4 separate regions of the Homo sapiens genome follow, and all the other regions are linked to region 4. Evidence: promoter capture Hi-C in human tissues and cell types (Jung and others, 2019). All regions are on one chromosome and are shown on one strand. The core of a region is centred on a gene start or on the middle of the fragment in contact, and the rest is flanking DNA. Distances in the headings are between cores, read along the strand shown.

Evidence for each region. The method cuts DNA at HindIII sites, captures the fragments that hold promoters and counts their contacts. A contact is called where the count stands out against the background at its distance.
Region 1: a fragment that was not itself captured here is called in contact with the fragment with the promoter of ADAMTS5 in region 4 in 1 of the 25 tissues and cell types used here (dorsolateral prefrontal cortex).
Region 2: a contact is called between a fragment that was not itself captured here and the fragment with the promoter of ADAMTS5 in region 4, in 1 of the 25 tissues and cell types used here (aorta).
Region 3: a contact is called between a fragment that was not itself captured here and the fragment with the promoter of ADAMTS5 in region 4, in 1 of the 25 tissues and cell types used here (dorsolateral prefrontal cortex).

The regions. Positions count from the first base shown.
Region 1 is chr21:28,443,756-28,450,256 of GRCh38, forward strand. No RefSeq gene overlaps it. Among named protein-coding and RNA genes, the nearest start is that of LINC00161, 92 kb to the right of the region's middle. The HindIII fragment of the contact is 3,666 bases long and covers 993-4,658 here.
Region 2 is chr21:28,065,390-28,072,837 of GRCh38, forward strand. The region is part of intron 1 of LINC01697 (long intergenic non-protein coding RNA 1697); the gene reads left to right. Among named protein-coding and RNA genes, the nearest start is that of LINC01697, 21 kb to the left of the region's middle. The HindIII fragment of the contact is 3,184 bases long and covers 1,479-4,662 here.
Region 3 is chr21:28,778,910-28,785,554 of GRCh38, forward strand. It overlaps a transcript of HEMK2 not described here. Among named protein-coding and RNA genes, the nearest start is that of HEMK2, 100 kb to the right of the region's middle. The HindIII fragment of the contact is 3,832 bases long and covers 31-3,862 here.
Region 4 is chr21:26,962,191-26,968,641 of GRCh38, forward strand. It overlaps ADAMTS5 (ADAM metallopeptidase with thrombospondin type 1 motif 5), which reads right to left and starts at 4,898. Exons shown (of 8, transcript NM_007038.5): 1 at 3,098-4,898. The coding sequence starts at 4,201. LOC124905050 reads right to left here. Exons shown (of 3, transcript XM_047441063.1): 2 at 5,254-5,780; 3 at 4,466-4,894. The coding sequence ends at 4,466. The HindIII fragment of the contact is 10,779 bases long and covers 1-6,451 here.

The DNA.
Region 1 (6,501 bases), core at 1,576-4,075, 1.5 Mb after region 4:
TGGATTTAGTTTTCCTCATCATAATCTGTCAGAGTTTCCTCTTAGACAAGCTTGTGAAAAATACATCGTCATGCCCTTAACACTGGATTGGAAAAACTGCACCAAAATCGCTTGAAGGAAAACCGACTGAACAAAGTTTCACAATAATGTCACTCCTACAATGCATCATCTATGCAAAACAAGATATCAAATTCTATAACTTTCCAGCACACTAAATTATCTCCCATTTCCTCTACTTTTTTTCTTACAAAAACACATACTACACTCACACACGCACCTTAATTGCCTATCAACAAAAACTGTGTACTGAAACTTCCAAAGAAGTTAGGTGAGGGTTTAAGTATTCCTTTTACATTTGCATGCATGTAAGCACCTGTGATCATAGGTCTTACCTTTCATGGTTTCCTAGGTAATAGGACCTCTTCGTTGATAGAATGATCCTAATATTGACATAGGAAAAGGGGCCACAAATAAGAGTTGGGCTGTTACTTAGGAAAGCTTGTCATTGTTACTTCCCCAGATAACAAGAATAAATGATGCAATAAAAGAATGAGTGCCTGCTTCAGCAACTCATCATTAAAAGTGAAGAACTACCACAGGAAGCAGAACTCGAAAAGAATGTATGCACTTATGCAACCTTTCTTGTAGCTTTTTGCAGCTAATTCTTATTATTATACATCAAGATAAGAAAAAAATCACATAAATCTTTGAAGAAAAATGAATGAAAGAGGGCTTTCTTTAAAGGTTACTAGCTAAATCCATTTCTTTACTTTCTGATTTTTTCTTTCTTTTCTTTTAAATAATCATTGAAGGCATTGATTCAAAGGAAGTTAATGCTGCAAAAGACCTAGAAATCATCTAGGAGTCTTTTGACTTTAAAATACTTTTTCTGAAGAATAATTTGTTCAAGTTCAGTAAAATTCCAACATGTGACAGAGCTTTGTTCTGGCTGAAGTCCACTTGGGTTCCCTTCCTCTTGTAGCTGACATCAGTAGTGGCTTCTACAGGGATTCTGGGTAATTCCTCCCAGAGCACTGGCCTGGAATAGTGCCCTCTATGTAGAAATAAGAAAAAAATGAGGCACAGAAAGATGAAGGGATCCACCATCACAAAAGTGGTACACAGCAGATAAACATCTCTTCTTTGCCTTTTTATCTCCTACATTTGTCTTCTCATCTTTAATTCATTTGGTAGATCTGCAGAATAACTTTCCAGAGAAGATCAACTGCACCACATAGCTAAAAGCTGACTTCCTTTTTTTTTCTTTCATTTCAAAAAATCAAAACACCTGGTTGTGAAATGCAACGTTTTCACAGAATATTTAATTTGGTCCACTTACTGATAGTATCAGTTTTATGTGAACAGTTACGTGGCAATTAAATTTCTCAGATTACCATTTTTTAAAGAGTTCTCCAGAGTGCGTCAATGGCAAGGGATCCATTTTTCCAAACCTGTCTTGTTTCCTTAGTGAGTCAGTCTTTCAAAGCTTATATTGCAGTCATTCTTTGTATTATAAAAGTGATCCCTAAAGTAAGAAGAACAACTACATGTAGTCTCTATAAAATTCCTAGCCTAAATAGTCATTTCAAATGCCTTGCTTTCTCAAGTATTGCTTAATATTATGTATGACTAGCACTGTACAAAATATAGAACACTTGGGAGAAGATTATGGCAACAGTGAGATCTGGGAACATTTGTGTATTGGAAGGAAAAACCATGATTCTGATGGGCAAGAAAGAGAATAATCTTGAACAACAAAAGAAGAATATAAGAGTTTGGCATATCATGCTTTTCCAAACGTATGGCTTCATTTAACAAACTTGGGACAGTCTTTATTTTTTCCATGATTACTTGTGTGTCAGCAGGCATAGCTTGGCCTTCTCCTTCATAGGCCTGACACTGAGTCAATGCTTAGCATCCAAACCACACATAAACTATTTTTTCCCCTAGAAAGTGCTCATTGGATGACTTAATAAAAGTATTTTAATGTTTGGAAAGGAAAAACATGTTTGCCTTATTCCTTTAGATTTACAGCTGCTTAGGGTTTATAGAAAATACCGTTGTCAACAATATTCAAAAGGCAGAATACAAGAGTTTGAGGATGCAATCTTGCTACCCCTATGTTACTCCTACCATTCTGATATGGTTTGGCTCTGTGTCCCCACTCAAATCTCATCTTGAATTGTAATCCCCACATGTCGAGGGAGGGACCTGGTGGGAGGTGATTGGCTCCTGGGGGCAGTTTCCCCCATGCTGTTCTCATGATAGTGCGGGAGTTCTCATGAGATCTGGTTGTTAGATAAGTGTCTGGCATTTCCCTTGCTCGCTCTCTCTCCCTCCCTCTCTCTCTCTCTCTCTCTCTGTCTCTCCCCTGCTGCCATGTAAGACATGCCTTGCTTCCTCTTTGCCTTCCGCCATGATTGTAAGTTTCCTGACACCCACCCAGCCATGTGGAACCATGAGTCAATTAAACCTCTTTTTTTCATAAATTACCTGGTCTCAGTATGAAAATGGACTAATACAAATCCGCATACCAGAAAGCCAGAGTGATGTAGTCTGATGCAGAACAGAAGTTACTATAGAAAGTGTGGCATGGGTGGCTGATTCTTGCAGGATGCTGACTTCTTGATGAGTTTTCAAACCTTGGACTTTGTACACACCAAATTGTTCTGAGATCAGGACAACTGACTTCTGATTCTAGCGAATTTATGCAATTCCTGTAAGAACAGAGCAAGGAAAGATGAGAGCCTGTAGCATTGAAGTCACAAATGATAACAATAGCACCAGTATAATAATAGCAAATGTTTTGGGAGCATTTACTATTCCAAACACTACACTAAACACTACATGCATCATTTTTCTTATTCTCACAATAAACCTTATATTTCTGTTTTGCAGATATGGAAAACAAAGCTTAGGAAAGTTAGGTAATCCATCTAAGTTCACAGAGCTAATAAATTATGGAGTGAATATTAGGAGTCTGGTCTTTCCCTTTAATACCAATACCCTGTTCTTAATCAGCAACAAGGCCACTTCCATCTCTGAGTGAGGAAGGTGGACTAGATCATGTATAAATTCCAGATAAACTCTTTCAAGCTTTTGATTTTATACTAAAAATCATCTCCTAAACTCCACTAGCAGAAAAATAGCATATCATCTCCAGGAACACAGTCCTCAACAGCTGCTTTTCCAACCTCATCTTTCAAAGCAACCTGTTCATACATTTCTCATATTCTAAGTGAACAATTTCCAAGGCCTTTCCACCTCTCTGACTCCATATTCACTGCTGTTTTTTATTCTCACTATTGTCTCCCTTCTTGCACTTTTACCTATCAAAATTCAAACTAGCTATAATTTCCAAACTAAATGCCACTTTCTCCATAAAGCTTTCTCATCAGATGATGTCTGCTCTACGAATAATTTTTAATTACCAACCACACATGTCCTGTGAGATGTTATAGCCTTTTGCCCTGTGGACCACACATACAGTGTGGACACTGTAAAAGGAAAAAAATTGTCTAATAACTCTGTCTAATTATCAATATTGTCTAATGACTCTGTTCACCTACTATGGAAGTGGCTGATTCTTCTCTTATCGCTCATCTTTACCTCTACATTAACCCAAGTCAAGTGCAGCCAATAAGGTCACAATGAACTGCTTATTTGTAATTATTTTCCAAAGGATTAAAAAAGTGCAACATATCATTTACAGATCCTATGTAATCAGGAATCTTTACATAAATAAAAGTCAAGCAATTTCAGAAAAATGCTGCTAGGAAACAATTCTGTCCAAAAATTCAGAAACAACAATACAACCAAGGGTATGCATGTGTAATCCTTTTGGTAGCACATTACAGACATACTTCTAATACTTCTAGTACTTTATATTCTGAAGTTGTATTTTCATTATGGTTTCTCAGCAGGAATTTCACAACCAGTGCTCAAAGCTAATCTCAACATCGCTGATCTAGTTTCAAAAAAAAATAGTAATAGCAACAGCAAAAATAAGGTTGAAGAATAGAGCTTTTGTATGATACAAACTTCAATTAGATGACACATCAATCTTTTCACATGCCATAAAACATACACATGTATCTGGAAACCTCAGTTGCAGTGCACAAGAATTAAATGAATATTAGGGAGATAAAGGGAGATTATTACAGATGTACAAGTAGAGAAGGAAGAAAGTTGGGGAGAAGGATCAATGAGTTGATGTTCAATGCTAAGAAAGCATAGATCCCAGGTCCTAGAAGCAGGGTTCTCTGCTCTCAGCATTCTTGACCAACCTTCAATGGCCTCAGTCAGATTTGAAGACTTCAAAATAACACATAGGTTTTCCTTTCCTTTAGAAAGGGAAAGAAAAATGAAGAACTGCATTTTCTTTACAGTGAGACCACAACTCTTCCACCTCTGTGCAAAATCTATAGGGTCCCAAGGCAAAAATAAGAAAATATAGCCAACTGCAGATATTAAATAAGTACATGCAGAAAACTTTGTAATTCAAATTTATTGGCTAGTTTGTAACGTGAGTTTTCATACTGAAGAGCTATAACATTTTTATTACAAAATAAAGCTTTTGAAAATGTTAACATTTATATTTTCAACAAACTCATGAATCAGATTTGTCTTATGTCATCTTATTAAGCATCTAATAGCTAATATCTTAAGCGTTTAGTGCTTGATAAACAAATTTTGTTGAGTTTTTCTTTAAAAATGGACATATTAAATTGACTTTTTAAAAAGCTTAATTCATAGCACATTGTTTTGAGTCATAACATCATCATTTGTTAAATTTTAGTTTTTATGAACATTATTTCTAAAATCTAAATCTCAGGTGTGTATTTTCCTTAATACACAAAACCACTATTAACTGTAAACAGAAAGAATTTGATATTAAGTCTAGGGGCAATCTACCTCTTTAGTCCTATAGATCACACCAAGGATGAATAAGACTCATAACAGACATAACAAAAATCTCTGGTAGGCCTAAGACATAGGTTGGGAAAGGGGAAATTATACAGAAAAAGACATAAACAAAAAGGATAAAAGTACTTAGGAAATAAAGTACATATAATAAAAGTGGTGGTAAGCAGTGGTGTGAAGACAGGGTACTTCAGGGGACATGTAAGTTTCATGTACAATAAGGCATAGTCATGGGATCAACTTCTCATAGAAAATACTGTCATCAGAGATACACTTTAAAATGCAAAACACCACAGTATAACTTCCAAACACATTAACCTGGAGAGGAAAACACAGACAAAAGCATTCTGATGTGAGAATACATCTTTCAAACGAATGCAATAAGCCAAGAACCACCTCCAATCTAATGCTTAGATGATTGGGAGCCAGGACCAGCTCAAGGCCCTGGTCAACTGTACATGCTTTTGCAGTTGTCTCAAGAATCTTCCAGTGATAAGCCAGACCACTAATAACTGATTCCAAGGTTATGGCGTAGAGAACTGAAAAGGTTCCTTAATTGAAAAGGTTCCTTACCCTTCACACTGCTAACACTTTGTTTCCTTACTCACAATTAACCTTATGATCTTAAATTATAGACCCCACGTAATAAAGCTGACTTAATAAGAAACATCCTGCCTTATTCTGCAAAACAATAAAGAAGTCACTCTGATTCATTCAAATTATGGTAAATTTAATTTTTTGTGAATTTCATGTAAAAGCTCTATTAAAAAATCTAAAATAAATACACTTGCTCAGATACAAAGAATAAAACAAATTGCAAGAACGTTAAGTCCTAATCTGGTGGTTCTCAACATTTGTAACAATTTAGAATCACCCAGGAAACATAAAAAAAGAGAAGATTCCTAGGCTTCCATCCTCAGAACAATTATATTACACTTTCTGGGAGGTTAGACTCGGGCATCAGTATTCTTTAAAAGCTCCTCAAGTCATGATAATATGCAGCCAAGGTAGAGAACTACAGGCCTCATCTATTTGCTTATGAGATGGTAGCGGAGTGATAGAAGGAAATTCTCCTATGAGATGAGAATTCAAACTCAAATTACACAGGATGAGATGTGTTGTTTGGGGCAAATGAATCAAGCTCTCTGTGCTTCAGATTCTGTATCCTTAAAATGGAGGACAAATATCTTCTCTTAAAGACCAGATACTTCTCTGGGTTGTTTAAGGATCAATTATCATAGAACAGCTGGCAAGTGGTGAGATTGCAACAAGCTGGAATTCCCTCTCACTCCTGAATGCTTCCTTTCTCCCTCTGCCATTGATCTGATATAAGCCTTTACCAACTAAGCGATTTATTCCCTTCATTTCACAAAATATTGCTTTCTCACGAAAAGAAAGTGGTGATTATTAATTTCTAGGGATACTAAAAATTAAGTATTTTTAAATTTATTCATTCCATAGTCGTTTTAATATATTTATTAAAAATAATCTAAAAATATGCATTATCTACCATATCTCAGTAGAACACTTACTCTTAAAATAGTAATCCTCATGCAAAAATGGTCTAGAAGGAGATAG
Region 2 (7,448 bases), core at 1,821-4,320, 1.1 Mb after region 4:
CCTAATAATTTTTTTTCTAGTTTTGATTTCAGCTGCCAAATATTTGATCCAAAATGGTTCTCTTATTCTCAGTGGTATTCGGATTCCTTCATTGAATTTGCCTGCACTGGAAACTAAACCAGTCAGAAGAACCCTTTGGTGGGACTTTGGTTCTGGATTTCATTCAGGGACCACAGAGCTGCTCTTGAACTCAAGCGTTCTCAAGAAGACACTTCAGTGCTCTGCTAGTAAAAACTGTGTATCCATGCAAGTTCAGACTCATTACATAAGCATTCCAATTTTTTTTGTCACAAAGAAAATCGTGCACATCTGCTATTTAAATAGTCTCTGGCTAAAAAAGTTGTTGCTTCTATATAAGAAAGCATAGCTTAGATATACATTACAGTGTTTCTTATTGTCATCCAACACACACACATTCTGTTTGCTTAATCCATTGCAGTCTCCTTCTCTGCCCCTTTTTACCCAAAGTTCCTTTCTTGGAGTGAGATGAGGGAATGAAGGAAGGTTTAGATTTAAATAAACAGACTGTAGGGGTTTCCTGAGGCTATCACATGGTGGATGCCTCTGCTATAAAACTTTGTCTTAATAAATAACATTATATTCACATGAATATTGAGTTAAATTGATTCATTTTGTGTGTCCTTTTAAAGATTGACTTTGGAAGTCTCCCTTTTTAGGAGATTTTAGAATTGTGTTGGAGAAATTGGAATTTCATTAACAACATATAGTCAATGCAGGTAACTGTTTCAGGTGCTTCCTCAAAGCAAGGATGACCCAGGAGAGATACAATCATCTTAGTGTGCTTTATGTGATTCATATGAAATTCAACCCTTTTGGAGTTTCAGTTCTTAGCAAAATACCACTTCCTGTTTTTGAGGAAAAAAATGGCATAAGAAGTCATATAAAAAGACTCATAAGGCCCTTGGACATCAAATAACTCTTACAAAACAATATTTTAATGAATTAAGTGTAAATGAATCAGAAACATGTGGGTTGAATTTCCCTTGAAATACCCATGGGCTTAAAAATTAAGGGGAAAAAAAAAAAAGAATTGCTTGGCAAAAAATCATGTTCATTTTATCGAGCTCAAGCCTTTTGATAAAAAAAAAAGAAAAAGGAAGCAGCCTTGATTTGGTTGACTGAATTAAAAATTTAAAAAAAAAACACGACCATAGTCTTTATTTGTATTTTTAAATTCTGCAAAAGCCAGGTTGCAGATATAATTATGTGTCTATTTGGGTGTCAGATTCATTAATGTTAGACCATTTTTCAAGGACGGTAACATTTTGATTAACCAGAATTCTCAAGTAATGGTTGTCTTTCCCAGGGCAGAAGTGGCAGCCAGAAGGAGAACTAAAGACTGTAGTTCAAATAAAGTTCATTAGAGCAGAAGTAAAGAAAACATGGTAATCATTCAGTTCACTAACCAAGAAGATCCAAAATCCAAAGGAGTAGTGGGCCCGGTTAGCTAACCACTGAACAAAAGTCTAGAAAAACAGTCATGCAAGGGCTGGAGCTCAGAAGATAAGGAAAGCTAAAAATAAGTGGAAAAATCTGTGTACTGAGGGGAAGATCTGGGATAAAAGAAAATGCTGACAAAAGAAAAATAAAAATTGCAAAGACTGAAAAACTTCGAGTGGCAACTAGAAATGGCCAAAGTACAGCAGGGCAGAGGGGTTGGAAAACTTCTAGAGATAGGAAAAGCCGGGCAGATATGAATATTCAATGCCGTATTGTGAACACAGATGTTAATATGAGTAAAAAATGTGAGTTGTTGGCTCTGCCAACTTCGTCATAGAAGCCATGCTACTCACTGCACCTGTAATGTGCTTAGGTTAGGGTGTCTTAAAATACCTATGGATGCACGCAAGATTATTTATGACTCATTTGCAGAGACATGTTTATATTCAGATTTATTCAGGTTTTGGTGGAGTGAAGAATTTGAATTTAGAGAGTCTAGGAGACCTAGTTTTCTGATAGGGAAAAAGCTGCAATTGGAAGAGAGAGTAAAGATGTTACATAGTAAAGAGAAGTTTGGGAGTCACCCTTCTCCAGCTTAGGGTAGCTCAGCTTCCCTCTGTAGGTGAGAACCTGTAGGTCAACCAACATAATGTTTAGTTCTTTCAGAAATATTTGTCCTGAACTCTTATATTAATAAACAGCTTGTTTTGTAAAGCAGAGATAGGTTAAAGTCTTTAAAAATTATTTTTATTTCCAGGAAATTCTAGTAAATGATAATAATTTGTTGATATAAATGTTACCTATTGATGACACCTATACACAAAGAAAGTATTCAAATTGTATAGAAAACATATCTATTGAGAAAGTTAATCTTTTTATTTAAATAGTATTTGTTTAAGCATAGATTTTAGTTAAAAGCCAAAAGTATAGCTTTTACTAGCAATTGTGCCATGATACTGTCTACCACCAGTAACAACCCTTCACCCTAAAAAATAATTTTAAAGAGAAAAAACCGGTAAAGCAATAACAGAAGTGGGCATACATTTTGGGGATAGTAAACTATATTTTGTCTTTCTAGTTTGTTAATTTAAAATAAAAATAACAGGAAAAGACAAAACTGAAATAAAGAATACATTTGCATATGATACAAACTCGTAGAAAACTTGAGTGCCAAGACACAGCTGATGATATTAAAAAGGGAATGATGTGGAACTCAGATCTAGTCATTGAGTCATAATTAACACTCTTAAATACAGATTTTGCCTTTGCCCAGAAAAGCAGGCAGTTTTTTAGTCTTTTTTTATTTTTCCACTTATGTTAAAGAGGTAATGGGAAGAGGTAGGGGAGGGTTATTTCAGGAATTTTTTAAGATTATATCAAGTTTTATCAGTAGACAGCCAGTTCGCTGTCATCCACCTGAGAGAATCATGGTCTAGTATTCCCACTCAGTGATTTTATTTTTCTGTGATCATTACCTTCAGCTATGTTCCATCAATCTTCCTTTCTTAACCTTCAGTGCCATTTGAGCAGAATCCAAAATGTTTTGGCACTTTTAATTACTAAAATCTATACCTTTTAAATTTTAATGTAAACTCAATGTAAAAATCAACTTCTCCTTTTACACCAGCCTGGATTTGAGCTGAAGCTCAAATGGTCACAGAAGGCTGCTGAAGTTGTCTTAAGCAAGGTCTGGCTCAGAGCTGTCTCTTCCTTGCCTTCTTCTGGGAGTAGCTCCTCCAGTGTGCTGGAGTGGAAGAAACGTGAGCCTACAGACTGAGTGTCTTGGCTTAACTGTTCTTGTGATCCTCTCTCTTACTGCCATTACTTCTCTCTCTAACACTGACTGGCCTTTGATAAACTCCAGGTCACCATGAGGTGGCAAATTTTCACATGCTGGTGAAAGAGCCCAGCAAGTGACTGAAGCTTAAAGTCTACTTTAATCACCTCCTGAAAGCTCTGGTAGAATGCCCCGGTTGCTAAAACTGTAACCTTTATGTGAGGGATAACCTCTTTGGGATTGTTATTTTTCTATAAACTTGAGATAGGCTTATATTTATTTAAGAATACTTTCATGCAGTTATATTACCCAGTACCCATCTCTCTTTGCTTAAATCTTTCATACTAAGATTTATACCAGCTTTTAAAGTTCAAGATAGAATCTAAATAATTTGATGAGTCTCGCCATTCAGGATTAGCCCACGGAGCTATCTCACCTATTTCACAATATGTTCTTGTGCTCTTTTTGAATTCTATTTTATTTATAATTGCATAAAACTGTAGGTGAATGACCCTGGATGTCATCACAGCAGCTTGGACAATGTTATCAGTAAATATGCAATATGTGTGCACTCACATGAGTGTGTACACATCTGAGTGTGTATGTATGTATGTGGGGGGGGCTTATATTGGAGATATGGCAAGGAGAGGAGGAGTAACAAACCAAGGCAAAATGAAATTATGCTGTGTAGTCATTTCATATCAGCACACCATTCACTATCTTTATCCAAAATTGCCTTTCGAAAAATTAAGTCTATTTAATATACTGGGAAGGGGACTTAATGAGTTGTTGTATGCAAATTCCTGATTATTTTCCCTCTACCATCAGCAACAGTTCAACAAAGTGCATCTCATCTTACTCTTAGGGTTGTTTAAGAACTTGATCCCTGGGAACACCTGTTAGTAGCATGGCTTAAAATTCTCTGTGTTGTTTTCTCCCCCTTTGGAAGCTGTTTCACCCAGCTGCTGATAATTAGAAAAACAAAGCAAATCCCTCTCATGGATGCTGTCCTCTGGCGAAAGCCAAGCAGCATAAAGCCAAAGAACACCGTAAGCCTTTTTGTTTTAAACGAGGAGGCACGCTGCACTATATTCCTCTTGACTGCAAAACCACAGGAATGGATTAATATCACTAACCACAAGAGACCTTTGTGTACGAATGTGGGGGGAGGGCATGAGAAGAATATTAATCTGTGATGTATGACCTTATAGTTTCTGCAAAAAGTTAAAAGCTGCATGTATTTGAATCAACGCATGATAAATGTATCAGCCATATAAGATGAATAATATGGCTAAATACCAAGAGCTGAGCTCTTTCCCAGAATTAACTATTTTTAACTCAGGAGGCTTTTCAAATATTATGCAGAGATGGACATTCAGTAAATAGAACAGAATTAAATAAGAATTCAAAAGCAAAGCAAAACTCTAGCACCAGATAAGCCCCTTCAATTAATCCTTATCTTTTAATATATTACATATACAATACATGTATGTCTGTAATATATTCAGTGATATGTATATATGACACTTAGTGAATAATTAAGAAAAACATTAAAATTGATATTTTATTGTGTTTAAATACAAGATGAACTGTAGAAGCAAAATGATAGTTTATGTGTCCTACATACTTTTAAAAGAAATAAATCAAGGTGCATTTTAGTAATTTAACATGCTTATAATACTTTTGTTTGTTGAAATAAGAATTTTCTGAACATCTAAAATATGCAAAGCATTTTAGTAGGTACTACGGATACTAAAGAAAAAAATAAAATGGAAGAGAAGCATATTTGTGAATATTTCTCAATAGTCTGGGATTCAAGATCTTATTCCAAGTTGCATTTCAAATCTTATTACTCTTCTACCTGTGTGACCCTCTCCCAGTACAACTGTTTAAAGATTCTAAAGTGAATCCTAGATCTTCAGCAAAATATATGCCCTTTGTATATAATACCTCCCTCCATCTTTAACTGTCAAAATTCTGCAGTCTTCAAGATGTGATAAAACTCACTGGTAGATTATTGCAGGTGGTCATCATGGTGGCAATTAGGGTCTAATCTAGGGTGATGAAAATTGAGGTAAAAATTAAGAAATAGATTCAATAGATTCTACTATATTGAAAAATGTAAGAGGTAGACATTAGTTATCCGTGAGTAATGAAGGGAAATCAGGTGTTTGTGATGATGAAGATTTCAAATCTGGGTGACTAAAGAAGATTAATGCCGTGAATACAAATAGGGATGTCAAAAATACGGGTTCAGTGTGTGAGACAAAGGTGATCAGTTTAGTTATTTTAAATGTAAAATGTCTATGGGACATCCTGGAAATATCATAAAAACATATAAAAATTAGAAGAACTTTAGTCTGGGCATGGTCATTCATACCTGTAATCCCAGCACTTTTGGAGGCCAAGGTGAGCAGATCACCTGAGGTCAGGAGTTCGAGACCAGCCTGGCCAAGATGGTGAAACCCTGTCTCTATTAAAATACAAAAATTATCCAGGCATGGTGGCATGTGCCTGTAATCCCAGCTACTCAGGAGGCCAAGGCAGGAGAATCGCTTGAGCCTGGGAGATGGAGGTTGCAGTGAGCAGAGATTGTGCCACTGCACTCCAGCCTGGGAGACAGAGCTAAACTCCATCTCCAAAATAAATAAATAAATAAATAAATAAATATAGGAGAATGTTAGAGCTGAGCTATAACTAAGCTTTATGGTGCATGGTGCAAATGCATCCTGCTGGAAAGCAATGCTTGAAATTATGAGACTCTGGAGGCCAACAAGAAAAAACATTGATAAACATTTATCTCTAGAGAACAAGAAAAGGTTGAGGAGCAAGCAACCAAGGGACTCAGAAGAAAAACTTTCTTATATTGAAGAGACTAGGAAAAGAGTATCAACAGCCACAGAGTTCAATAATGTTATTTACTGGCAGTCTCCAACCTTTTTGGCACCAGGGACCAGTTTCATGGAAGACAATTTCCCACAGATCAGGGTGGAGGGTGGTTTGTGGATGATTCAAGTGCATTACATTTGTTGTGCAGTTTATTTCTATTATGATTACATTATAATATAGAATTAAATAATTATACAACTCATCATAATGTAGAATCAGTGGGAGCCCTGTACTTGTTTTTCCGCAACTAGAAGGTCCCATGTGGGGGTGATGGGAGACAGTGACAAATCAACAGGTATTAGATTTTCATAAAGAGTGCCCAAGTTAGATCCCTTGCATGCACAGCATAGGGTTCACGCTCCTATGAGACTCTAATGCTGATGCTGATCTGATAGGAGGTGGAGCTCAGGCAGTAATTTGAGTGATGGAAAGTGGCTGTAAATATGCTGAAGCTTCAATATTAGGAAGCAGCCGGGTTCCTAACGGTTCAGTCCGTGGCCCCAGGACTGGAGACCCCTGTTGTATATGACAGGTGTCCAGGAATAAAAATAACTAATAGAAGATCACCACTCAGTGGAAACTGGTCAACTTTAAGGAAGCAAGTTGTAAAGAGTTAGCTGCAAAAGAAGTCATAGTGCTTGGATTTGAGAATGAAAATAGCGAGCAAGTCAGGAATTGTTGCGGGAAGTCAGGGACCCCGAACGAAGGGACCAGCTGAAGCCATGGCAGAAAAACATAAATTGTGAAGATTTCATGGATATTTATTAGTTCCCCAGATTAATACTTTTATAATTTTTTATGCCTGTCTTTACTGCAATCTCTGAACATAAATTGTGAAGATTTCATGGACATATATCACTTCCCCAATCAATACTCTTATAATTTCCTATGCCTGTCTTTACTTTAATCTCTCAATCCCGTCATCTTTGTAAACTGAGGATGTATGTAGCCTCAGGATCCTGTGATGATTGCATTATCTGCACAAATTGTTTGTAGAGCATGTGTGTTTGAACAATATGAAATCTGGGCATCCAAAAGGAACAGGATGGCTGCAATTTTCAGGGAACAAAGGAGATAACCATTGGGCCTGACTGCCTGCGGGGCCAGACAAAACAGAGTCATATTTCTCTTCTTACAAAAGTGAATAGGAGAAATTTCGCTGAATTCTTTTTCTCAGCAAGGAAGAGCCCTGAGAAAGAGAATGCATTCCCAGGGATAGGTCTCTAAAATGGCCACTCTGGGAATGTGTGTCTTATACAGTTGTAGGTATGGGATGAAATTAGCCCTGGTCTCCCGTAGCACCCCCAGGCCTACTAGGATT
Region 3 (6,645 bases), core at 697-3,196, 1.8 Mb after region 4:
CACAGAGCTAGAGTTTTTAATTTTTATGAGATCCAACTTAATCGATTTTTCCTCTTACGCATCACGTTTTGGTATCCAGATCAACCCAAAGGGAAGCCATAGGACAAGGAGACTTGAAGCTAGACATTAAAATTAGCCTCCTTAACTCCTTAAAAAACTAAACATAGAACTACATATGATCCAGCAATCCCACTTCTGGATAGATGTTCAAAGGAATGGAAATCAGTATGTTAAAGAGATAGCTTCCACTCCCACATTCATTGCAACATTATTTACAATAGCCAAGAGGTGGAAGTAAACTAAGTGTTCATCAATGGATGGATGGATGGATAAAGAAAATGTGGTATATATACACAATGGAATACTATTCAGCCTTTAAAAATAAGGAAATTCTGTCATTTGTGAGAACACAGATGAATGTGGAGGATATCATGAGGAGTGAAATAAGCCAGGAATAGAAAGAGTAATACTGTATGATCTCACTTACATGAGGGATTTTAAAAAGTCAAATTGTTAGAAATAGAGAGTAGAATGATGGTTGCCAGAGGTTGGGAGGAGGGTGTTGGAGAGGTGTTGATCAAAGGGTATAAAGCTTCAGTTAGGCAGAAGGAATAAGGCTTTTAGATCTATTGAGCAGCAGGGTGAGTACAGTTAATAAAAAGGTATTGCATATTTCAAAGTTGCTAAGAGTACATTTCAAACATCTTACCACAAACATATAATGGGTAAGTGAGATCTTCTGTCTCCTTGGGTCACTTTCTCCTGCCATGTTTCCCAGAAACTTTCTCTCTAGATCTTTTCTATCATCTCTCTTCTTCCAGTTCTCAACTTCTCAAGCACCAAAGGACAATTCCAAGGTGTCTATTTCTTTACAAGATGCAGGAATTTAACTCCAAATACTCACCTGAGACTTAGCTCCTGGCCTCCTCTTTCAGTATGCAAAAAGAGTTTATTGTAAGAATTTTCTTGTTTTTAAAAAAAAGCCATCTACACCTGAGATTAATGCTGCTGTTTCCTGAGCATTTCTTTTGTTGCTACATTATTTTTTATTAGACATATAACTCCCTCTGCCAACCCATCATCTGTGTCACTTTAAACAAAAAAAACCCCACAAACTGAAACCTCCCATAGCAGGAAGAGTCTCATTGACCAACAAAGACTGGATTCCCATTGCAAACACTATAACTCAGGTCCATGAGCTATGAGCTTATGAGTAGCTAATGAGACATCACTGGGTTCTGCTTGGGTGACTTTAGAAGACTGACCTAAACAATTTTTTTTTTTTTGAAATGGAGTCTCACTCTGTCTCCCAGGCTGGAGTGCATTGGCACAATCTCAGCTCACTGCAACCTCTGCCTCCCAGGTTCAAGTGATTCTCCTGCCTCAGCCTTCCAAGTAGCTGTGACTACAGGCGCGAGCCACCATGCCCAGCTAATTTTTGGTATTTTTAATAGAGACGGGGTTTCACCGTGTTAGCCAGGATGGTCTCCATCTCCTGACCTCATGATCTGCCCGCCTTGGCCTCCCAAAGTGCTGGGATTACAGGCGCGAGCCACCATGCCCAGCTAATTTTTGGTATTTTTAATAGAGACGGGGTTTCACCGTGTTAGCCAGGATGGTCTCCATCTCCTGACCTCATGATCTGCCCGCCTTGGCATCCCAAAGTGCTGGGATTACAGGCGTGAGCCACCGCGCCCAGCCAGACAACTTTTAAAGTTCATTCTAACCTTGAGATTCAAAGGGACCACCATAATAGTGAACTAAAGCTTTGCTCACTAAAGTAGTCAGACCCAATGTCTATGAAATAAAGTTGTTCAAATCCAAGTCCCAACGCCCTAGACGTCATGGGAGACTTAAGAATTCCTTTAAGCAGCCATTACAGTTCTTCTGCACTTCTATTTTATTTCAACCCCCCCTCCTGGTGGCCTCTATCTTCCCCTGCTGCTCTGGCTCTTGACCACCACCCCTCCTTGGTGACTATGATGTCACTGCTCAGGGACATCACTCATTTATCACCATAGCTCCCAGATAGGCTACACTTATCCTGCAGTGAAGACTTTTCATTGAGACAGGAAGAGTTCTCTCATCATCTTTATAGATATTAAGAGTTTCCCAAAAGCATTTTCCTTTCTCTCTCTGGTTCCTAAATAACTTCTACAAATATGGCTTTATTATCTTCATTTTTCAGGTTTTTTTCAAAGCCTCTATCTCAAGTTGCTTAGAGTACATGCACCCAGGGCCAGGACAGCAGATATGAAAGAGGCAACTCATAAAATCAAATCTAAAAGCACTCTTTTATTATTTGACTTCTTCCTGCAGGTGAATTACCTATCAACTCAAAGTACTCCCTGAAAATTAGAAGATAGCTTTGTATGCTTCTGTTCTATATCAACTTTAGAGGCTTTCAACCTGTTCATCCATCTCTATCATTCTTATTACTTCTCCCAGAAGGATCATTGAGTAATTGGGCAAATGAGACATATAGCTACCCATGACGCCATGCCAGAGTTCCCAATGCATGTTCCTGTGTTCAGAGCTCCCCAAGATCACCCTCAGGCTCAATAATCTTGAAGGATTTCACAGAACTTCAGAAAACTGTGATACTCACAGTTACAGTAATACTACAGTGAAAGGAATCAGATTAAAATCAGCAATGGTAAAAGGTACATAGAGCAAATTTTAAGAGAAACCAGATACAAGTTTCCAGTTGTCCTCTCACAGTGAATTTGTGTGAACAGCTTAATTCTCCCAGCAGCAATGTGGAACAACATGCACAGAGTATTACCAACCAGGGAAGCTCACCTAAGCCTTTAGGCCAGAGTTTATATTGGGAGTCATTTATATGGGTATAGTTATCCACCCACATGGCTGATCTTCAGTCTCCAGTCCCTCTAGTGGTCACATTGATACTGTCTGGCCCAATGTCAGACATAATGGAATTATTTGCATAGATTTTCTGGCCCCAAGGCTTCTAGGTAAACAGACACTGTTATCAGGGAGGATATTCTAAGGGCTTAGAGGTTACCTCCAGAGTAAGGGTCATCCTTTCTTTGGATTGTGCAGGATGTGAACAATCTGCTGAGCTGATCCTTTACTATACAGTTTCATTGGGGCCACCTATAATTCTTAACTTAAAAAACTATTTCATTCAAGATGCAAAAATTGCTTAATCATCAACATAAGCATGAATCACATTCTAGCCATTCTCCCCTTTAACTTTTCAAAACTGAATAGTCTTAATCTTTGCAGTGTGTTCCCAAGTGACAGTGACTTTATTCCTTTGGTCATTTCCCTTCTTTATTTTAATTATTTTAGTTGACACATACAGAACAGAACTGCATCCAGCAGTCAAGGTTCACCTAATACTATAATATACACATAATATTAGGAAAATATATTGTGCCCAAAATGTTTCTGTTTATATCTCAACATTTATAGGCACTCTAGGCAAAAGGAATGGACCTATATCTTCAGGGAACAATCAAGGCTTAGGTTCCTCTCCTAGCTAAATGCAATAAATCCAGTACATTCAATATACACATATAGTTCAGAAACGTTAACTATAAATGCATTACTTTGTGCCTTCACTAACCCACAAATTATACCTATTCAAAAGGAAAAACTTCTTCATGTCATAAAAGGAGACACGAATAATCAAAAAACCTTAAGTAATAACTATAACATATGTAATAGGGAAAAGTTTTAATATCCTTGATATATAAAGAACCCATGAAAAGAAAACTGTTAAATGTTTAAATTTTTAAGTGGTCATGGGGATAAACGGAGAGTGATTGCTAATGAGTATGGGGTTTCTTTTTTGGGTGATAAAAAATGTTGTAGAAATGATTGTGCTGATGGTTACACAACTCTGTGAATATAGTAAAAGCCATTGAATTGTACACTTTAAATTAGTGATTTGTATAGTATTTGAATTATCTCAATAATTATACCTCAGTGGTTATATCTCAATAAAACTACTATTACTTTTTTAAATGGCCAATCTCTCTATAAATTAAATTAACAGTTGACCAGTATGTAAAATGTTTTTTCGCAAGTGCTGGTAACAGTGTAGAATAATGATCTCTTTCACACAGACATCCCTGATACAGGTTGAGTATCCCTTATCCAAAATGCTTGGGAACAGAAGTATTTTGGATTTTGGATTTTTTTCAGATTTTGGAATATTTGCATATATATAATAAGCTATCTTGGGGATGGGACCCAAATCTAAACACAAAATTTATTTGTTTCTTAAACACCTTATACGCATAGCCTGAAAGAATTTTTTTTTTTTAAACAGAATCTCGCTCTGTTGCCCAGGATGGAGTGCAATGGTGAGATCCCAGATCACTGCAACCTCTGCCTCCTGGGTTCAAGCAATTCTCCTGCCTCAGCCTCCCAAGTAGCTGGGATTACAGGCACCCACCACCACACCTGGCTAATTTTTGTAATTTTCGTAGAGACGGGGTTTCACCATGTTGGTCAGGCTGGTCTCGAACTCCTGACCTCAGGTGATCTGCCCACCTCGGCCTCCCAAAGTGCTGGGATTACAGGCATGAGCCACTGCACCCACCTTAAATAATATTTTTAGTATTTTTGTGCATAAAACAAAGTTTTGACTGCGACCTGTCACATAAGGCCAGGTAAGAAATTATATACTTGTGGCATCGTATTGAGAGGTGACAGTGTGCTGGCAGCCCTCGCTCGCTCTTGGCACCTCCTCGGCCTCGGCACCCACTCTGGCCATGCATGAGGAGCCCTTCGGCCCACTGCTGCACTATGGGAGCCCCTCTCTGGGCTAGCCGAGGCTGGAGCCAGCTCCCTCTGCTTGTGGGGAGGTGTAGAGGGAGCAGCGCGGGCAGAAATTGGGGCTGCATGCAGCACTCACGGGCCAGCACGAGTTCCGGGTAGGGATGGGCTTGGCGGGCCCTGCACTCGGAGCGGCCGGCCGGCACCACCAGCCCCGGGCAGTGAGGGGCTTAGCACCCAGGCCAGCAGCTGCAGAGGGTGCGCCAGGTCCCCCGGCAATGCCAGCCTGCCGGCGCTGAGCTCTAATTCTCACCGGGCCTCAGCTGCCTCCCTGCGGGGCAGGGCTCGGGAACTGTTGCCTGCCATGCCTGAGCCTCCCCCCACGGCGGTGGGCTCCTGTGTGGCCTGAGCCTCCCCGACGAGCGCCATCCCCCAGCTCCACAGCGCCTGGTCCCATCGACCACCCAAGAGCTGAAGAGTGCGGGCACACAGCGCGGGACTGGCAGGCAGCTCTGCCTGCGGCCCCGGTGTAGGATCCACTAGGTGAAGCCAGCTGGCCTCCTGAGTCTAGTGGGGACTTGGAGAACCTTTATGTCTAGCTAAGGGATTGTAAATACACCAATCAGCACTCTGTGTCTAGCTCAAGGTTTGTAAACACACCAATCAGCACCCTGTGTCCAGCTCAAGGTTTGTAAATGCACCGATCAGCACCCTGTGTCTAGCTCAAGGTTTGTAAGTGCACCAATCAGTGCTCTGTGTCTAGCTAATCTAGTGGGGACTTGGAGAACTTTTGTGTCTAGCTCAGGGATTGTAAATACACCAATCAGCACTCTGTGTCTAGCTCAAGGTTTGTAAATGCACCAATCAGCACCCTGTGTCTAGCTCAAGGTTTGTAAATGCACCAATCAGCACCCTGTGTCTAGCTCAAGGTTTGTAAATGCACCAATCAGCACCCTGTGTCTAGCTCAAGGTTTGTAAATGCACCAATCAGTGCTCTGTGTCTAGCTAATCTAGTGGGGACTTAGAGAACTTTTGTGTCTAGCTCAGGGATTATAAACACACCAATCAGCACCCTGTCAAAACAGACCAATCAGCTCTCTGTAAAATGGACCAATCAGCAGGATGTGGGTAGGGCCAGATAAGGGAATAAAAGCAGGCTGCCAGAGCCAGGAGTGGCAACCCACTCAGATCCCCTTCCACAATGTGGAAGCTTTGTTCTTTCACTCTTTGCAATAAATCTTGCTGCTGCTCACTCTCTGGGTCTGCACTGCCTTATGAGCTATAACACTCACCGCGAAGATCTGCGGCTTCACTCCTGAGGCCGGTGAGACCATGAACCCACTGGGAGAAATGAACAACTCCAGACAGGAGGAACGAACAACTCCAGATGCGCTGCCTTAAGAGCTGTAACAGTCACCACGAAGGTCTGCAGCTTCACTCCTGAAGCCAGCAAGACCACGAGCCTGCCAGAAGGAAGAAACTCCAAACACATCCAAACATCAGAAGGAACAAACTCCGGACACACCACCTTTAAGAACTGTAACACTCACCGCAAGGGTCCGCGGCTTCATTCTTGAAGTCAGTGAGACCAAGAACACACCAATTCCAGACACAATATCATTACTCAAAAAGTTTCAGATTTTCTGATTTCAAATTTTTAAATCAGGGATGCTTAACTTGTAATATAGTTTGGTACTTTTCAGGAAGACAATACAGCAATATGTATCAAACTTTAAAATTAGGCATGTTCCTTAACACAGCATTTTTACTGCTAGCACTTACCCCATGATAAATTACAAATATGTCCCCAATTCTTTACTTCTCCCTATATCCACAAGGTTTGCCATGTAACATTAAGTATATTCCCACTTTGACTCTTGCTTCAGTGCTGTAACT
Region 4 (6,451 bases), core at 3,648-6,147:
TTTCTAAAGAGCAAATGGTCTAAAAAAAAACGACTGTAAGAGTTTGTCTTTGAAGAAATTATCTTGAAATAAAAGAGGACGTCCAGAACAAGGAAAGGATTCTGGAAAGCAAAGCTAAATCCTGGGGAGATTGGATTTCTACTGTTTGATGGCAGAAGTGGTGTGAATTCCAGCATTAGTGCCATTTCAGAATGAAAACAGCTTTTATGCCAGGAAATTGACTGGTGCTAACTCTCTCTAATTAGAATAGTACTGGAGTGCTGGGTACAGTCCTGACAGTGAAGTGTGATCGTTTGATAAATGAGTTACTAGCTCTATTCTGCTGACTTCCAGATGCAACTTTCAAGGTGGCCTCAGCTAGTAAACAGAGGTAGAAAACATATCCTCGTACATTCGCTTCATGCCTAAAAAACAAGCAATTTAGGAGAAGACATCTGGACCTAAATTTGAGCAGGACTCAGAGCCCATCAAAACATGGATTTCATAGCTTGGCGTCTGGCTGCTAAGCAACGCACTTCTTACATTCAAAACAGAGTTGTAAAAGTAGAATCTTGGTGCCAACTCTGGGTATTTCTCATTGAAAAGGAAATAGCTCTGAAAGCTTTTCTTTGGGCCTTAAGATAATCTGATTTTCATGAGATGGAAGACCTCAGATCATCTCTCCTCCAGACTTCTTTTTTTTTTTCATGCTCTGAAGTATTAGGCAAAGTTCACTTTGCATTGTGAAATACTCTCAAATGAATGCTGCATAAATGCCTTGAAATTTTTTTCAACCCCCTAATTAGTAACACTCTTTTAAATTGGGCGCATCTATTGAAAATACACATGCATTTCAAATATTTGCTTCTTGTGAAGTTAGATGTGTATACTACAGGGCCAACCACAAATGAAATTTGTTTTCCTAAAAGTATGCTTCTGCTTGGCAAGGAGACCAGAGAGGGCCCATGTGAAATATTTTCCATGTGTAGACTAGTTTGAAAAATGCATGTCCTTATAATACTGACAAAAATTAAGATGGACCATTAATTTATTTGTCCCTTGCTTTGTATCTATTTAAAATATGCTGTTAAGTTTCAGACTTTGGAAAAATAGGGACAGTTAACTATCCAAACAAAAAACAAATTCGGAAAAAGTAATCGACAAATCATTGAGAATCACTGAGTAGTTTCCTGTTTTCTGGGAAACAATTAGGAATGTTATGGGGCAGGAGGTAGGAAGTAACAGACCTTCTATTAATTTTTATTTATTTTAAAATTATGAAATGTGGATTTGTGTTTAAAAATGAAAGTGAACTACTAAAATGACCCACTCCTTGGCGCAGTATGCTTACAAAAGTATTTCTTCCTCTTCCTTTAGAGAACCTCCTTCCATAAACTCTCCAAAGCCTCCTTCTTGGCATCCTCTTGTGATGTAGCAGAGCAAGGAACCCCAGACACGGAAAGTTGCTTACCAAAAAAAAAAAAAAAAAAAAAAAAAAAAAAAAAAAAAAAAAAAAAAGAGCTTGGAAACCTAACAAGAAATGGATAGTTTTACAGAACTTCATTTTGCAGAGAAGGCTACAAATGAATGTTCTACCGCTTCAAAGACTAATGTTGTGCAGAGGAATTAAAGGATGGCTTCCAGAAAATCACTTAATGAGGAAAAAAATGTTTTCCATTGTGCACAGCACTGCGCGCTGCTTGGCTCTCCCTAAACTGCCGCCCTCCAGCATCTTTGTTTACATGTGGTTTACATTAATGTCCACCCTATGAACCACAAGTGTTTCTCTACTCCAAATTTATCAACACTTTTCCTTCATACCAGGGGTGCCTTAGTAAAAATAGAAGAATTAGGTAGCGAAGCTGTGTGATTCTAAAGTCTGCAATCCATCATTTAATTTCCTATCCTTGTTCTGTTTGCTTCATTTCATACCATGATTTTACATAATACTTCAAAGTTTGTAATCCTTAATCTATTCTGGATGGGTCTCAAATACTTAAAGAATGAGCTTTAGAAGTCAATTCTTACCAGGCATTTAAGAGGCACAACTTAAAACTGCCAATCAGAGTCGAGTTGTGACAACTGAGGCTTAGAACTATGCGCAAGCCAGGCCCCAAACCAACCCAGACTTTTTGTGTAAATGTCACACTAACGTAGTGGTCAAATACTGTGTAAATAGATACTGCGTTCCTCCCTGAGCCTCTGAGCCTTAAAGATCCATTTCTTTGCTTCCCCATAACCATCTTTCTTAAAAGGGGGAAATGCTGGGAAAACATTTCTTCCTTCTGTCTTGACTCTTCGCCCAGATCTTCTGCACTGGGGCTTCGGAAACATATTCATCCAAAACCCAAACACGCAAACGGGATGTGACCCTCCCTAGGCGGCGGAGTTGGCCTGGGCAGTGCTTGCGACGCACTGGTCGACTAAGCAAAGGAGTTGTTAAGGAACCTCACAAGTTTGTCCTCTCATCTGATTGGGTCTCTGTACCCTGCTGGCCCGCCCACATTCCTTCCTTCCCAGGAACTGAGATTCCAAGGTGGACATGTAAGAACTCCATTAGGAATCCAACCTGGAAAAAGAGTCCTTGAGAAAGTTTTCTCATCCTCTGTGTAACAGAAGGGATTCTAGTAAAAAGGTGTGGACACTTACAAAAGAAGGTCATCGGATAACAGTGAGTACCGTGAGTGAACCATCCAGCCCTTTCCATTAGGTGGGACAAGGTTATATTTTATTTTCACTGGAAAGAAGAAGACCCATGATCCCAAAGGCAACTTTGTTTTCCTTCCTTTTCCCCATTTAACTGTATCATTTCCCCAAGCATCCTTGTGCCTTCTTATGTTTACGTTCCTATGCCACAACACCTCAGACTAGATGACATGCAGCACTACTGGGTCTTCATCATCACCTAAGCAAGTCTTGGCATTTAAGGCAAAAATTTCTGCGGGGCTAACGTGAATACAGGAGCAGAGTTGAAGGCTGGTTGGATTTCCTGCAAGAAGCAGTTAAACACATCCACAGCTGCAGGAGGTTTGAGGGAGAAGCAAAGCCACCAGCAAGATTCCCTTCTACCTACCTCCTGATATCAGCGCTGGGACCCCCGCATCCCGGCTGGACCTACCTCCCGAGTAAACAGGATAGCTGCATCGTAGTGCTCCTCATGGTCATCTCCCAGCTGGTTGTGTTGGTGCTGCCACTTGCAAAAGTTCTTGAGTGTGGTGGCAGCGTTCTTGCTCACTTCCAGGCTCTTGTCCTTGTCGCCTAGCACCACCACCTTCACCACGGCCAGGCGGATGTGGTTCTCGATGCTAGCATGGCTGTACAGCCTATTGGCGATGGAGGCCAGGGTCAGCAGGTAATGCTGCAGGCCCCGGCCATACAACCGCGCCATGGACGCGTCAGCCACCAGAAGCAGCTCCACCTGGCGGGCCCGGGAGATGGAGCGGCGCCGCCGCCGCCACCACGTCTGCGGTCCTGAGCCCCCAGCGGGCGAGAGAGCGGACTGGTCCAAGAGCTGCGAGGCCAGTGCTGCGCGTCCGCTCGGGTTGCTGTGCGCCGGAGCATGCTCGTGGGCCTCCGGTGTGGACGCGGGGGTTTCGCAGCTGGCGCGCGGCGGCAGGGCCTCGAAGCTGAAGCCCTCGCGGGTGTAGACGTGCAGGATCCGTGCGGACCCATCCCCGTACACGCGCCCCTTTTCTTCCTCCGCCCAGGGTCCGCGCAGCAGTGGCTTTAGGGTGTAGCGCGCGTGCTTGACCGCGAAGAAGCCGTCGAGACCCCCACAGAGGTCAAAGACAGCCAGAGAGCGGGGACTACCGTCCACTGTGCCCCGATAGAAGCAGTGGCTCCGGTGGCGCCAGGGCGCACTCGTCCCGCCTCCTGCGGGCACGAAGCCAGCAATGCCCACCGAACCATCTCGCTCCAGGTCCAAGAGGAACCTCCGGCCGCCCGCGTAGACGAGGTAGCCCACCTTGCCGCCGCCGGAGTAGAGTTGGTCGATGTTCTGCACCAGCCCCTTGCTCCTGCGCCGCTGCGCCAGGGGGTGCGGGTGGCCGGGAGGCTCGGCTCGCTCCTGCACCTCCTCCCCCTGCCGCCGGCGGGGCTGGGCGGCTGCTGCAGCAGTCGGAGGCTGCCCGGCTTTATCCTGGGCAGGTGTCGCGGCGGGGCCGACCGCGGCCAGGGGCAGGCGGAACGCGCACAGCAGCAGGGACGCCCACCCGAGCAGCATAGTGCGCTGCCCGCGGGGAGGGGCTGCGCGACTGGGACTTTATGGGTATTTGTTATTTGCTATGAAGTTAACGGGGCGGGGGATGGGGACACACACACACTTGCTTGCAGGATTGAGTCAAGTGTCGGAGGGAGGGGGGCCCGGCAGCAGCGCCAGCCTGTCCGGGCTGCGGTGCCAGCGTGCGAACTTTTCTTTGTTGCTTGGGAAAATGTTTGGATTCGTGCTCCAGAAAGAGGTGGGGTGGGGGGGGGGGGAAAGAAAAGATTAAAAAAAAAAAGTCGGATAGTGGAGATTCAGCAAATACGGGAAAAGGAAAAAAACAAAAACCAAAAAACCACCAAATGCAGGCACGATCGCTGTTTCAAGAAAAGTAAGGAAAGGTACCGCGCACCGGGCTGGCAACTGGTGCGCGCAGCCTCCCGCCCCCGCGCTGCGCTGGACAAGCCGGCTGTGGAGGTTCCAAGCTCCGGGGCCCACTTCCTTTCTTATTTTGTGGGTTTCCTTGGCTCTGCTGGGACCAGGAGGAAGGGAAGAAAGAGAGGGGAAAAAGCCGTAAAAATTAAAACAAAAATGCAGGGGGGCAGCCTGAGGCGAGCTGGTGAAGCGGCGTGTCTGTGTCCCTTCGGCTGCGGTCTCCTCCTGCCCGCCGTCATCCCCAGTCGGCAGCTGCGAGCGCCGAGAGCAGCGCGAGCGCTGTGAAGATGCGAGGAGGTGGAACAATGAATTTATAGCGGCATGCCATCCTGCAATGGCAATTTCAACAGTTCGTCACTGCACGCTGCCTCTTAAAGGGAGAGCTTCCCCCACCACTCCCACCCTTCCCAGTCCGCGCCTAATCAGATGGGGGAGGGCAAAAGAGGAGGGTGATCGAGGAAAGGGAGACGAAGTAGGAGGAAGGGACTGGGACCCGGCGAGGTGGTAGGAGGGGAGAGGGGAAAATAAAAAGTAATGGGGCAAGAAAAACAGATTTCCTTGGCCACTTTTAAAGCCACAGCGGCTCCGGGTCTGTCTGATATTTCACAACCAATTGGGGTTGGCTAACCTTGGCTTACCTCATCTCCTGAACGGGTGTTTTGGTTAAAGTTATTGAGACGTTTCAAGTCTCTCCCTGCCTCCTTCTTGCCTGCTTTTCTCGCCCTCGGTGGGAAGTTCCTGCCGCAAGTTTTTCCCCTTTGCACACCCGTGCGCTCTGGCCTCGCAGACCGTGCAACTCCATCCACCAGCCAGAGCTTTTCAGCTTCCCGTGCGTCCCCTAACCACCGCGTTCCCTTCGCTTCCTCCCCTCCGTCCCGGCACCCGGTTTCCTCCCTCCCCATTCTCCAGCCTCTTGATGCTTTGACGCTCGCCGGATTCGGGCTCCGGGTGACTAACTTCTCCCGGCCACCAGCAGAGCGGCTGGACAGCCAGAGAGCCCAGGGCGCTTCCTGGCGCGCTGCGGTACCCCGGGGCGAGAACGCCCGCCGCTTGGGAACTCCGCAGCTTTGTGTGCGAACGGCGGGCTCCCAGCTTTCTCCAGCACGCCTTTCGTCAGGGTCCACAATCTGTCCCTTACTCCCAGCCCACTGGAACTTCCTTTGCTCTAAAAAGGCAGAGCGAGAAAGAGTTAACTCTTAGAGGGAATTCCGCTCATTTTTTTTCCCTGAAAGATTTTAAAATTTTGCGCTCATACTTTTATTTTTTGCTTAAATGATACTTTAATAATAAATTCCTATATCTGTTTTTGTCTCTTCTAAAGCAACCACTTATCGCCATAGGCCTTGACCTACCTTCATTCTCAGAAATTCCTTTTAGAAGAAAAAGAATACTTTTGGCGGAAGGAAGATTGGTGCTTATTAGTACGCGGGTGACATTATCACTGCTACTCGTTTCCTCTGACCTCTTTGTTTCCTCTAATTATCATTCTAAGAAGGGAGAAGGAAAACCCGACGACTTATGGTTAGAAGGTCTACCTTCTACTGTAGGGGTAAGAGCTCCCTCCATGCCCAAATTATTCTTCAGGCTAATTAACTAATGCACCAGTGAAAAATGAATGTGGTGTAATTTGTACATTTCCATCTTTTTCTACGTTTAACTTTGGCTACGCTGGGGATAGCAGGGCGGGTGCCTTAATGGGGCCCCAAGCTGATCGCTTTCTCTGGGAGGGAACCATGAGGGTCCAGAGCTTGATGGAGGTTCTTAGAGTGGCAATAATCCTCTGGAAGGAATTTCAGAATTGCCCGGCAACAATACCCATTGCCGTGTGCCTGGGAA